3 separate regions of the Homo sapiens genome follow, and all the other regions are linked to region 3. The links are contacts of gene promoters, found by promoter capture Hi-C in blood cells and fetal thymus (Javierre and others, 2016). All regions are on one chromosome and are shown on one strand. Each heading gives the region's core, a stretch centred on a gene start or on the middle of the fragment in contact. The rest is flanking DNA. Distances are from core to core; before and after follow the strand shown. Region 1 overlaps C11orf58 (chromosome 11 open reading frame 58). Region 2 holds the start of RPS13 (ribosomal protein S13). Region 3 holds the start of HTATIP2 (HIV-1 Tat interactive protein 2).

Region 1 (4,070 bases), core at 852-3,351, 3.6 Mb before region 3:
AGTATCAGGAAAATAGATTATTTTTGTGCTGTGAAACACTATTCAGTGGAAAGTTTAGTGGCAACTTTTCCATATCATTCATGACTTAATACCTGAAATGCACTTTTAAATGTTTGCCTTATATCCAAGTGTTTACTTGTATCCATGACCTAACCGTCTATTGAAAAGAATGTTTGCAGATGCAGATTGCAATGTTGTTTGTATTCATAGGCAAAAGTCCTCTTCTCTAGTATAATTTTTTAAATCTGAGAGAATTGAAGGTACAGAAAAAAATTCTGGAGTGCCTGAACCACAGTTTGAGAGCACAAAGGTCACATTCTTTCAGTAAATTTGGGGGAAATAAATTTCAGCTACCTGGTTAGCTTCAGTGACTACTTACACACAGGGCTTTGGTTCCATTACTTGTTTCCACCACAGCCACATCCTAAATACTTGGAATATCCGAAAACAACTTCTAAAATCACTCAATAAAAGTATTCACTTCTAACCAACTCCTCCTCCTTTATACCTGCTCTGTGTTAGGGCGTAGTCTGTTTCCACCTCTGTAAGTCCTATCTAGGCTTCCTGATCTATCAATTCAGTATCATGATTGTTAACCCAAACGACTTCCTGGAAAATTCCCAGCCCTAGATGTATCCAAGCCCTCCTACCCTCACCAGTTATTTCTGGAGAAAGATCACCAAATGTATAAATCCGTATTAGTAAAAATTGGTTTTAACTGACCTCAGCACTGCCCATTACCCTTATTTTCTCTAGTCGGTTCTCCATTCTTACTATGTAAAACTTATACTCTGAAACTTGTTACCCTCTTTTTTTCCTTCACTCTTAACATGTCCTTGCCTTCTATCTTACATAAAAATAGAGACCTTCAGGCACAAATTCCCTGAACTTCACTTACTAAATCCACAGCCATGGACAAGATTCTGTGCTCTAGGTTGTGACATCCCAACTCTACCACAGGGCTAAACTCGGTGACCTTGAGCATAAGTTGATCTCTCTGGGTCTCCTTTCTGGGTAAGTAAAATGAGGATAGTAACAGTAACCCCCTTTGCATAGTTAGTTATTGTGAGACTTAGGTAAAATGAACAAAAAGCTTAGTGCATAGATAAGTGATCAGTAAGTGCTGGCTCCTGGTTCCCACCACCCCCTCTGCCGCCCCGAGATGGGGTCCTGCTCTGTCACCCAAGCTGGAGTTCAGCAGCATGATCATGGTCATGGCTCACTGCAGCTTTAACTTCAACGGGCTCAAGCCCCTCCCACCTCAGCCTCCTGAGTAGCTGGGACCACAGGTGTGTGCCACCACACCTGGCTAATTTTTTAATTAATTTGTAGAGACTGGCTATGTTGCCCAGGCTGGTCTTGAACTCCTGGTCTCAAGCAATCCTCCTGCCTCAGCCTCCCAAAATGTTGGGATTACAGTTGTGAACCACCACACCCAGCCTACTGTTGAATCTTTTAAACCTTGTGAATGTAGTGCTTATTATCTTCCCTTGAGTCTTCAACCTCCCCCTTAATCTGTGACCCTTTTCTTTTGGCATTTGTTCAAGTATTTCATATCTTTTTAAGCAAGTTGCTCCTAGGTACCACCTATGTTTGGTGTAATTCTCTCATCTATATCTAATTTTAGTAACTTTTCTATTACTGCCTCTATTTCTTACTTCCATCCCCTCCCTCCTCAATCCACTCCAGTGTGGCTCCTACCCACCCTAGACACAAGAGCACTGAAAACTTTAATCAAATCAATTATTGACATTTTCCTAAAACATAAGTACTTGTAAATTCTTCCCTTGACCTGTTAGCAGTACTTAGCATTGTTAACCAGTAGGATGTACGTGCTTAGTACATGAAGGGGTTCGGTAGATAATTTCCCAATCCTGTACATCCATATGTATTTGTTCCTAAATTGATCTGCCTTAAGACAACTACCTCTTATTTCACAGCCTTTCTCCCACTAGAGGAAAGGCAATACCTCTCAGCCATGCCAGACCTACTGTGTTTAATTGTCCCAGGGAATAAAATATTTCATGGGTCCAAACAAAGGGACAATTTGAAACATTCATGTTTATGTTGAGGCCTGAATGACTCCCTTTGCAAGTCAGATGGTTTCTGTCATCTGTCAGATGCCCTCAATGAAACTAGCAGACAAGTGAATTGTCAGCTAATTTATTAAAAATAAATTTTGATGCAAGATCACTATGATTTTTGGCCTAAGAGTTCAGAAGATTGACATTCCTAAAACCTATTATTGACTTTTTATCATGTGAGCAAAGTTTCTCAGTGCTTTCATCTATAAAAATAGAAAATGGACGGACGTTTTCTACTTTAGGAACTCCAGTTATGTGCATGTGTCATTTCCTATCTCTATGTTATTTTTCTTTATGATTCCTCTTCCTTATTTCCCTTATCATGATTCAAACACTGTATACCCCATCATTCCCACTTTCATTTTTGCGGTTATTTTTGATTTCCTGAGTTCTGCCAGCTCACATTTCACTCTTTGTCATTTCATTGTATCTTCCTTTTTTCTTTTCGAGACACAGTTTCACTCTTGTCACTCAGGCTGGAGGGCAGTGGCACCATCTCGGGTCACTGCAACCTCTGCCTCCCAGGTGCAAGTGACTCTCCTGCTTCAGCCTCCCAAGTGGCTGGGATTACAGGCGCATGCCACCACACCCGGCTAATTTTTGTATTACTAGTAGAGATGGGGTTTCTCCATGTTGGCCAGGCTGGTCTCAAACTCCTGGCCTCAAGTGATCTGCCTGCCTCGGCCTCCCAAAGTGCTGAGATTACAGGCATGAACCACTGTGCCTGGCCTTATCTTCTATTTCTGATGTATGTTCTTGTAGAGATGAATCTTTAATTAAGATATTAAAGTCATTGTAAAATATTTAATCATAATTTTCAAATATTTGAAGCAGTATTTTTCTGGAGAGTGTTTTTCATCTGCCATTTATTTTTCTCTCTATTATATCCTTATACAGAGCTTTTGCTAGCTTTTGTTTTTTTAATTGTCTGATCAACTGCAAGTATTTATTGAGCACCTGCTATGTGCCAGGCAGTCTTAGGCACTGGGAGTACAACAGCAAACAAAATCAGACCCTGCTTTAATAAAGCTTAGACTCTAGTGGAGGGGAGACACAATAAACACTTCATATATATATACATACACACACATACACACACACACGTTATATATATAATATATATAATAACGTGTTATATATAACATCTATTATATATGTATTATATATATGTTATATAATACATATATAATATATATATAATGTATATATTATGTATATATACACCATCTCGGCTTTTAGTAGAGATAGGGTTTCACCATGTTGGCCAGGATGGTCTTGATCTCCTGACCTCGTGATCCATCCGCCTCAGTCTCCCCAAAGTGCTGGGATTACAGGTATGAGCCACCATGCGTAAATATATATATATATTTACATATATATCTCATATATATGTCAGATGGTGCTAAATATTAAAACAGGGTTAAGAGATGTAATGAAAATAAGCTAGGGTCAGCAGAGGGTTATGAGTTCAAAGAGATAGCAGGAATTAAGATCATTAAAGCCATGATATGAACTTTGAGTTTTATTCTGAGGAGAATGAGAAGAACTTGCAGATTTTTTTAATTAGTGTGACATGATCTAATATTGCTTAAGCTGCAATATTAGATCATATCACACTAATTAAAAAAAAAAAACTTGGGAAGCCAACTGTGAAAATTAGATTATGGCAATATTCTAGGTGAGCCCAAGGGCTTGGACTAGGGTGGTAATGGGAGTGGTGGGAAGTAGATTCTGGATATATTTTGAAGGTAGAGCCAACAGTATTTGCTTAAAGATTGAATGTATTATGTAAGAGAGGAGTCACGAATGAACTCTTGGCTGGGTGTGATGGTGTATGCCTGCAGTCCCAGCTATTCAGGAAGCTGAGGTGGGAGGATCACTTGAGCCCAGGAGTTTGAGGCTGCAGTGAACTATGAATGCACCACTGTACTCCAGCCTGGGAAACAGAGTGAGGCCCTATCTCTTAAAAAAATAAGTTTTGGCTGG
Region 2 (4,056 bases), core at 1-2,500, 3.3 Mb before region 3:
CCACACTCCCTGTCTTCCTCCCACCCCCCGCCCAGCAATCCGGCTTGATGCCCCGAGCTCACCCGGGAGCATGCATGCGACCCATGATGGCGGCGATCAGGCAACGAAAGGAGAGCGAGAGTGGAAACGCCGCAGGAAGCCACCCAACACGCAGGAAGTGACCTCACACGTCCCCGCTTCCTCTCACGCAGGAGGCGGAGCTACGCTGCGCAGCCACCGCCCGTCTGTGTGACTACATCTCCCGAAATGCATTTCAGCGTCGCAAGAGATCGTCAATCCAGCCTCATCCCGGCATGCATCGGTCTTTGGTCAGCCTTGTTGCCAGAGCGGGAATTTGAGGCTGACGCCAGCTTGCGTCGAAATTCCCTGTGGACGCCGAGATCACAAAGATTCGAATGCTGCGCTGGGGGTGGGTATGGAGCAGGTAGGGCTGGAAGAAGCAGCCATACACAGGTGTTTGCTCATTCACCAGTGCCTGGCTTTGTCCTGGCACTAGATCCCTCAGAGTCGGCCCTGCGCCTAATAAATTAACAGATACAATAGCATGTGATGAGGACCACACGGGAAGCCATGGCAGCGGCTACCGCCCAGCCAGCGCTTCCATTTCTCATTTCTAAATCCTACCCTAATCTGTCAGGGGAGAGTCGCTGACGGTGAAGAACCGGTCTAAGGAGTTGAACCAGGTCCCCACGGATGCCTGCCGCCCTCCGCACTCGAATTCCCCTGCGCAGGGCTCTGGGGCGCTGGGCTCGCCGGGGAGAAGGGTTGGGCAGAGGCTTACGGAGCTATGTTCCCAAGTGAGAGAGTTGGCGGGCAGGGAAGAGCCTTGGGAGCAAGACTGCAAAGGCCAAGAGGATGAGGGATAAAATGAAGCATTTGAATTTCATGGGAAAAGGGAACCGTCAAGGAAGAAGCTTTTTTTTTTTTTTGAGACGGAGTTTCGCTCTTGATTCGCAGGCTGGAGTGCAATGGCGCGATCTCGGCTTGCCGCACCCTCCGCCTCCCGGCTTCAAGCGATTCTCCTGCCTCAGCCTCCTGAATAGCTGGGATCACAGGCATGCGCCACCACTTCCAGCTAATTTTGTATTTTTAGTAGAGACGGGTTTTTCCATGTTGGTCAGGCTGGTCTTAAATTCCCGACCTCAGGTGATCCGCCCGCCTCGGCCTCCCAAAGTGCTGGGATTACAGGCGTGAGCCACCGCGCCTGGCCGGAAGAAGCTCTTTTAAGACAGACCTAGCCTGGGCAACATGGCGAAACCCCCTCTCTATAAATACAAAGAATTAGCCGGGCGTGCTCGCTCGTGCCTTTGGTTCCAGCTACGAAGGAGGCTGAGGTGGAGAATCTCTGGAGCCGGGAAGGACATTGCGGTGAGCCGAGATAGCACCACTGCGCGCCAGCCTGGGCAACAGAGCAAGACTCTGTCTTAAAAAAAAAAAAAAAAAAGGAAAGAAAGAAAAAGACTGACTCAGTGCCGGTACACAACAATGCGTTGAAAGAATGGGCAAATGAAGCAGCTTCTTAAAATTTTAAAAAGTAAGCATAGCTCTAGGAAGGAGGGAGGTCAGTGAAATCAAACTCCTGTCGACAAGCTTAAAGTAACTGGCAAGACGCTGGGAAACTAGATACTGAAACATCCGCTCTTAACTTTTAACCTGTCACTATTTGAAATAAAGTTATCAGGGATAGCCGGGCGCGGTGGCTCACGCCTGTAATCCCAGCACTTTGGGAGGCTGAGGCGGGCGGATCACGAGATCAAGAGATCGAGACCATCCTGGCTAACACGGTGAAACCCCGTCTCTACTAAAAATACAAAAAAATTAGACGGGCGTGGTGGCGGGCGCCTGTAGTCCCAGCTACTCAGGAGGCTGAGGCAGGAGAATGGCGTGAACCCGGGAGGCGGAGCTTGCAGTAAGCCACGATCGCACCACTGCACTCCAGCCTAGGTGGCAGAGCGAGACTCCGTCTCAAAAAAAAAGTATCAGGGATAAAGAGAGAACCCTTTATAACAACAAACGGGTCAGTTCTCCAAGAAAACAACACCCCTCCCCCCCAAAAAAGCCATAATCTGTCACTATTTGATTAATAACTTTTCCCAAAGCATTAGGAATTTTAGTCAAATCGGGTACCCTATTTGGGTAATGTTTTTTTCTAGCAAAGTTTATCATTAGCCAATTTTACATTTTTAGTTCAGATATGGAATAGGTATCTCAAATTTAATATGACTCCAATTCCCAAACCATGCCCCTTTGTTTCAGTTAAACACGATCCTGTTTGCTCAAACTTAATACAAACCTAGGCATCTCCGTTTTTCTCTGATTTCCCTCTGTCATCCCAGCTCTACCACAAGAATGTATCATGAATATGTTCCCTTTGCCCCATTTCCACCTTCAGTCCCAGCCACCATCACCTCCTATCTGGGCAACTCTGTAGTATCCACACCGTCTGGTCACGTCCCCACTCTAAACACAACCCACTCTCCACCTAGCAGTCAGAGTGATCCATTAAATACATAAAGCAGATTAATTCATTGCTCCCCTGTGTAAATCCCTCCCATACTTTCTCAATGCACCTAAGATCCAATCCCTGGACCCACGTCTTGCCACTATCCCCCGATTCTAAACGCTCTAACCGCACTTACTCCTTTCTGACTCTACAAGGTAGCAATGTGTTCCTTTCCTGCTTAGAGCCCTTCCTCTTGCTGTTGGCACTGCCTGAAGTGCTTGCTCTTCCTCAAGACCTTTTCAGGTCTCACTTTCACATCCTGGCCTCCATGTCATCTCAGGGTGGCTTTCCCTAAATAGGATCATCTAAAGTAGTCCTTCTTCCCAACACAATATCCTATTGATTACTTTCAAAGCACCCAAATCTCTAACATCCTTTCTAGTTGCTTGTTTGGTTGCCTGTCCACCTCCAATAAAAATTAGCTCTGAGAGTACAACGTTTATTGCTTTATCTCCAACACCCACAAGAGTGCCTGGCGGGAAGTTAGGTACTCAGTAATTATTTGAAAGAATGAACCTAAATAATGTCATTTTTCCCCCTTTGTAGATGTCTAGATTGTAGACTTTATTTCAGGAAGATGATGGGAATAGTAGATTTAGCAATCTAGTCCCAGATTACAGGATGTCTGTGTGTAATTTGGGTTGTCAGTTAGTTATACATGAAGATTTTTGTTTTTGTTTTTTGAGAGAGTCTCGTTCTGTCACCCAGGCTGGAGTGCAGTGGCCTGATCTTGGCTCACTGCAACCTGCACCTCCCGAGTTCAAGAGATTCTCCTGCCTCAGCCTCCCGAGTAGCTGGGACTACTGGCACCCGCCACCACGCCCGGCCAATTTTTGTATTTTAGTAGAGATGGGGGTTTCACCATGTTGGCCAGGCTGGTCTCAAACTCCTGATCTCAAGTGATCCGCCCGCCTCAGCCTCCCAAAGTGCTGGGATTACAGGTGTGAGCCACTGCACCCGGCCTGCCATAGTTATTTTATCTGGTAATGTTTGTATATTCAGTAATGATGATAAAATACGATGTAGTGCTGAGTTTTAATCAAACGGTGTTTACCTTCTATTAAGCCATGCTCCATTGCCTTTATATGTGGCATGCTTTTGTGAGAGCTGCTTTTGCAAATTGGAAACTTCTAATTTTTTAGACAAAGGGAAAGTTATAATTTTAGTATCTAGAAAATAGTTACTGTTAATGCATTTATTAAGGTCAGAAGTTCAGTGATCAAATAGCTTTACAAACTGAATTTTTAATATTTTTTTACTGAGGTAAATTCATACCATGAAATTCACTTTTTTACCATTTTGAAGTATACAGTTACTTCAGTAACTTTTATTGCACTCACAATGTTGTGCAGTCATTACCACTAATTCCTGATATGTTATTACCCCCAAAAGAAACCCGGTAACTATTAAGCTGTTGGCTCTCCAGTCTCCTCTCCCCACTCTAATCTGCTGTCTCATGGACTTGCCTATTCTGGACATTTCATATAAATAGAATCATAAGGCCAGGCACGGTGGCTCATGCCTGTAATCCCAGCATTTTGGGAGGCCGAGGC
Region 3 (3,923 bases), core at 785-3,284:
AACCAAATGTCCATCAACAGGAGAATATTTAAACATGTTGTGGGATATTCATACTGGAATACTGGAAGGCTACTCAGCAATAAAAAGGAATGAATTCCTGATACATGAAACAACCAGGGCTGATTTACTCATTTGGCACAGTAGGCACAGTTCTGGGGCCTGTGAAAATAAACTTTTAGGTGGAAGAAAATGTTTTAGGTGAAAGAAATTGTCATATTCATCTTTATAGCAACATAGTCATAAGACATAATTTTTGATTATATAAATAGTTTGTCATATTCATCTTTATAGCAACATAGTCATAAGACATAATTTTTGATTATATAGTGTGTGTACATAAAATGAAGGGGCTCATGAAGTGCTTAGGGCCCATAGAAATCATAATGCAGGCCTACAAACAAGAATAAATACTAAAATATGTGTTAAGCCAAAAACCTGGGACACAAAAGAGTACATGCTGTACTCTTAAATAGAATTCTACAACAGGCAAAACTAATCTATGTTGATAGTGACCAGAAAGTGATTACCTCTGGAGTGGGGAGAGATTGCAAGAAGGGAATGAAGGCACTTTCAGGGATGGCAGACATGCTCTATATCTTGTTTTTGGTGGTGGTTATTTAGGTGTATATACAATCTCCTAAAATCATGGAACAGAACCTTTAGGTTCTGTACATTTTATTGTATATTAATTATGCCACAATTTTAAACAAAGGGGAAGAATAGACAGGGTACAATGAATAATTTCTGTGACAGATTTGATAAATGAATTACTAGGACAGTGTTTGCTGACAAGGTTTAACATTGCATTCTTGTAGAAAACCTTTAGGAACTCAAAGGGAAGAGTCCAGGCACTGTGACAGGCCAGTGGGGAATGAACCACACTGCTCTATATTAATCAAGCTTTTTTATTGCAAACAACAGAATATATCTGGTAAGCTTATACAGCACAGGAATTTATCAGAAGAATAACAGGAAGTACTGTATTCACAACAGTCTCTGAAAACAGGCAGGAATTTAAGACAAGATCAGACCATCAGATGGCTGGTGGATCATATGATGCCATAATCCTATACCCTTGCCCCAACCAACCCACATATATCTCAGGCCTTCACTGCATCTTTTCATTACTCCTCCAAAACTGAAAACCTATGCGTGAGCCTCTGGCTTGCTGAGCCTAGGCAAAGCCTACATATAATAACTCCCATGGAGATGGAAGAGGCAATGTGTTTCATTGGCTTCTAGATGGGAGGTGGGGCCCCCAAATGACCAATGTTCCCAACAAAACCTGAACAATCTGAAATTATTCAGATTTCTGCTTGTCATTCTAACCTCTGTTCAGGACTTCCAAGATCCAGGACAGGCCCAGTGTAGATACCTGTGTCCCAAACCACTGATCTGGGCTAGGAAGACTGAATCACAGGTGTGGAAGGTCACCCGGGTTCAACCATCTAGGTGATGAATTAGGCCAGGACCTGGGCAGGTAGACCATTTATTCTGGGGAGATATGATGCGAGCTTGAATTACATGGGAGAAATATTTGTAAGGCAGATGGGATAACAGGACTTGATAAGTCTGTAGTGTGGAAAGGCTAGAAAAGAAAGGAATCAAAGGAATCCTGATTTCTGACTTGACAGGGTAGAAGGAGGTGTGTGTGTGTGTGCGTGTGTGTGTGTATGTTTATGTAGGGACAGTGACACCCAAGAGAGGCTAGGAATAGGTTTGTTTTATTCCTGTTTGGGGTGGTTGGGTAGGCAGGGTTAAGTTTTTGACTTGGTGAATTTGAGATGATGGCCAATATACAATTGACATTCCAGCTGGGGGGACCATTGAAGATCAAGTCTGGCAAGTCTACTAGCTGGCGCCTGGGTGAGCTGAGCCCAGCAGGTGAGGGAAAACGCGGGAAGAGGGTCTTGCAGATTCCAAACTTAGGAAGGGTCGCGGCTCCGCGCACGTGCTCTCGGGGTCACCTTCCCCGCGCCTGTGAGGGTGCCAGGAGTTCGTCTCCAGGTCCCGCCCCTGTGGGCGGGGCGAGGCAGCGTCGCCGCGAGGCCACCCGGAAGACCAAGCCGGGTAGGCGCTGTCTCCGTCGCCTCCAACCCCCCCGGTCCGACCAGGGAAGGTGGGATGCTCTGATGGCCGGGCCTGCGGCGCTGAGCGCGGCGGCGGCGGCTGCTCTGGCGGCCGCCCTGCTCCTGCTGCGTCGTGAGGACCCGGGGCCGGGGGCTGGCCCCAGGTAACCCCTCCGCGTATGGGACCGAGCTGGGCCAGGTCTCCTGGCCGGGCCGGGGATACCGTGGGGTATGCCCAGTGATGCCAGCAGCTTGTGGCACCTGGGCGCACCCTCCAGCTCGGGCCCCTTCCGATGGGTCTGCTGGCTCAGGTGCGGGCGATGGCCGGGGAGCCGCGCCCCGCACGTGACTCAGCACTTTCCCCAGAGCCCGGACTGCGGAGAACAATATCCTCCTCCCTAACAGATAAACAGCCCTTGTTCCTCGGGATAAGGACTGGCAGTCCCCTGACACCCTAAGACCGGCATCTGTCGATGTTATTTCCCCAGCATGGCCGAAACAGAAGCCCTGTCGAAGCTTCGGGAAGACTTCAGGATGCAGAATAAATCCGTCTTTATTTTGGGCGCCAGCGGAGAAACCGGCAGAGTGCTCTTAAAGGAAATCCTGGAGCAGGGCCTGTTTTCCAAAGTCACGCTCATTGGCCGGAGGAAGCTCACCTTCGACGAGGAAGCTTATAAAAATGTGGTGGGTATTTCAGCTGGGACTCAAATGGACCCCCAGGATTCTGCGAGGTGAACATATTTCATGCCTAAAGGCTGAATACTGCCCTGCCAGTGGTGGGGGTAGTGAGAGGCCATCAAAACTTGGCCAAGATTGGTCTGTGAGAGTCCCTCCCAGAAGTCTGACTCCTGGATTGTAGCCCAGGTGTGCCTCCCTCCCGCTCATTGTGTGGTCTTGGGCAAAGCCCTTCTCTCCATCTGCAACCCTATAAAGCTGGGTCTGGGTTGTAATGGGGGTGGGGGCTGGTGAGACAGAAGAGCACTGTTTTCAGGGTCATACAAGCTGTATTCTAGAGGCAGCCCTGGTGACCTTGAGAATTTTCTCAGCCACTTTGCTGATTTTGTCAACCTGCGCACTTCACACTAATATTGTCAGGGATTCTGAAACTGCTTTGCAGAGTGAGATAGGTCTATGGCAGTGAAAGGTGGGATTATTCACTTACAAGAATTTGCCCTGCCTGACTTCCCAGGCTTGTGTCTGTAAATCGGATATTCCCTTCACTCTAAGTTAAAGGTTTTTTTTTTTTTTTTTCTGAGACGGAGTCTCACTCTGTCCCCCAGGCTGGAGTGCAGTGGCACGATCTCGGCTCAGTGCAACCTCTGCCTTTCAGGTTCAAGCGATTCTTCTGCCTCAGCCTCCCGAGTAACTGGAACTACAGGCGTGCGTCACCACTCCTGGCTAACTTTTGTATTTTTAGTAGAGACGAGACAAGGTTTCACCATGTTGGCCAGGCTGGTCTCGAACTCTTGACCTCAGATGATGCTCCCGCTTCAGCCTCCCAAAGTGCTGCGATTACAGGCGTGAGCCACCGCGCCCAGCCTAAGTTACACTTTTATGATTATAGGAATGATATACCAGACTTCTGTCTTGTCATGACCCCCTAAATATCAGAAGCCTGAGTTTCTTGGAGATTCTGTTCTTTATTTAAAGGGAATTATCTGTGAACTGCAACAAATTAACATAGTGTGATCTCAAGACACCACAGCTACAGAATTTGGCCCCACAGGTTTCATAGAAAGAACATTTCAAATAACAAGCCATCTTGCAAATAAATGTTCTTGATTCTCGCAGGTCTGTGTTCAGGTCATGGTGTGAATGCCTTTGGTCCATCAAGTCTTGTTTATTTAAAACAGA

What was found. Contacts are between HindIII fragments. The CHiCAGO score rates a contact against its expected background, and 5 or more counts as called.
Region 1: a fragment that was not itself captured here is called in contact with the fragment with the promoter of HTATIP2 in region 3 in 1 of 17 cell types (non-activated CD4 T cells); the score reaches 6.5 in non-activated CD4 T cells.
Region 2: a contact is called between a fragment that was not itself captured here and the fragment with the promoter of HTATIP2 in region 3, in 2 of 17 cell types (non-activated CD4 T cells and naive CD4 T cells). The highest score is 10.2, in non-activated CD4 T cells.

What each region holds. Positions count from the first base shown.
Region 1 is chr11:16,757,619-16,761,688 of GRCh38, forward strand. It overlaps C11orf58 (chromosome 11 open reading frame 58), which reads left to right. Exons shown (of 5, transcript NM_014267.6): 5 at 1-722. Among named protein-coding and RNA genes, the nearest start is that of C11orf58, 21 kb to the left of the region's middle. The HindIII fragment of the contact is 2,020 bases long and covers 1,092-3,111 here.
Region 2 is chr11:17,077,557-17,081,612 of GRCh38, forward strand. It overlaps RPS13 (ribosomal protein S13), which reads right to left and starts at 111. Exons shown (of 6, transcript NM_001017.3): 1 at 63-111. The coding sequence starts at 85. RefSeq lists an enhancer at 145-344. The HindIII fragment of the contact is 676 bases long and covers 913-1,588 here.
Region 3 is chr11:20,361,680-20,365,602 of GRCh38, forward strand. It overlaps HTATIP2 (HIV-1 Tat interactive protein 2), which reads left to right and starts at 2,035. Exons shown (of 5, transcript NM_001098522.2): 1 at 2,035-2,753. The coding sequence starts at 2,559. RefSeq lists silencers at 2,036-2,455, 2,242-2,384. The HindIII fragment of the contact is 1,649 bases long and covers 935-2,583 here.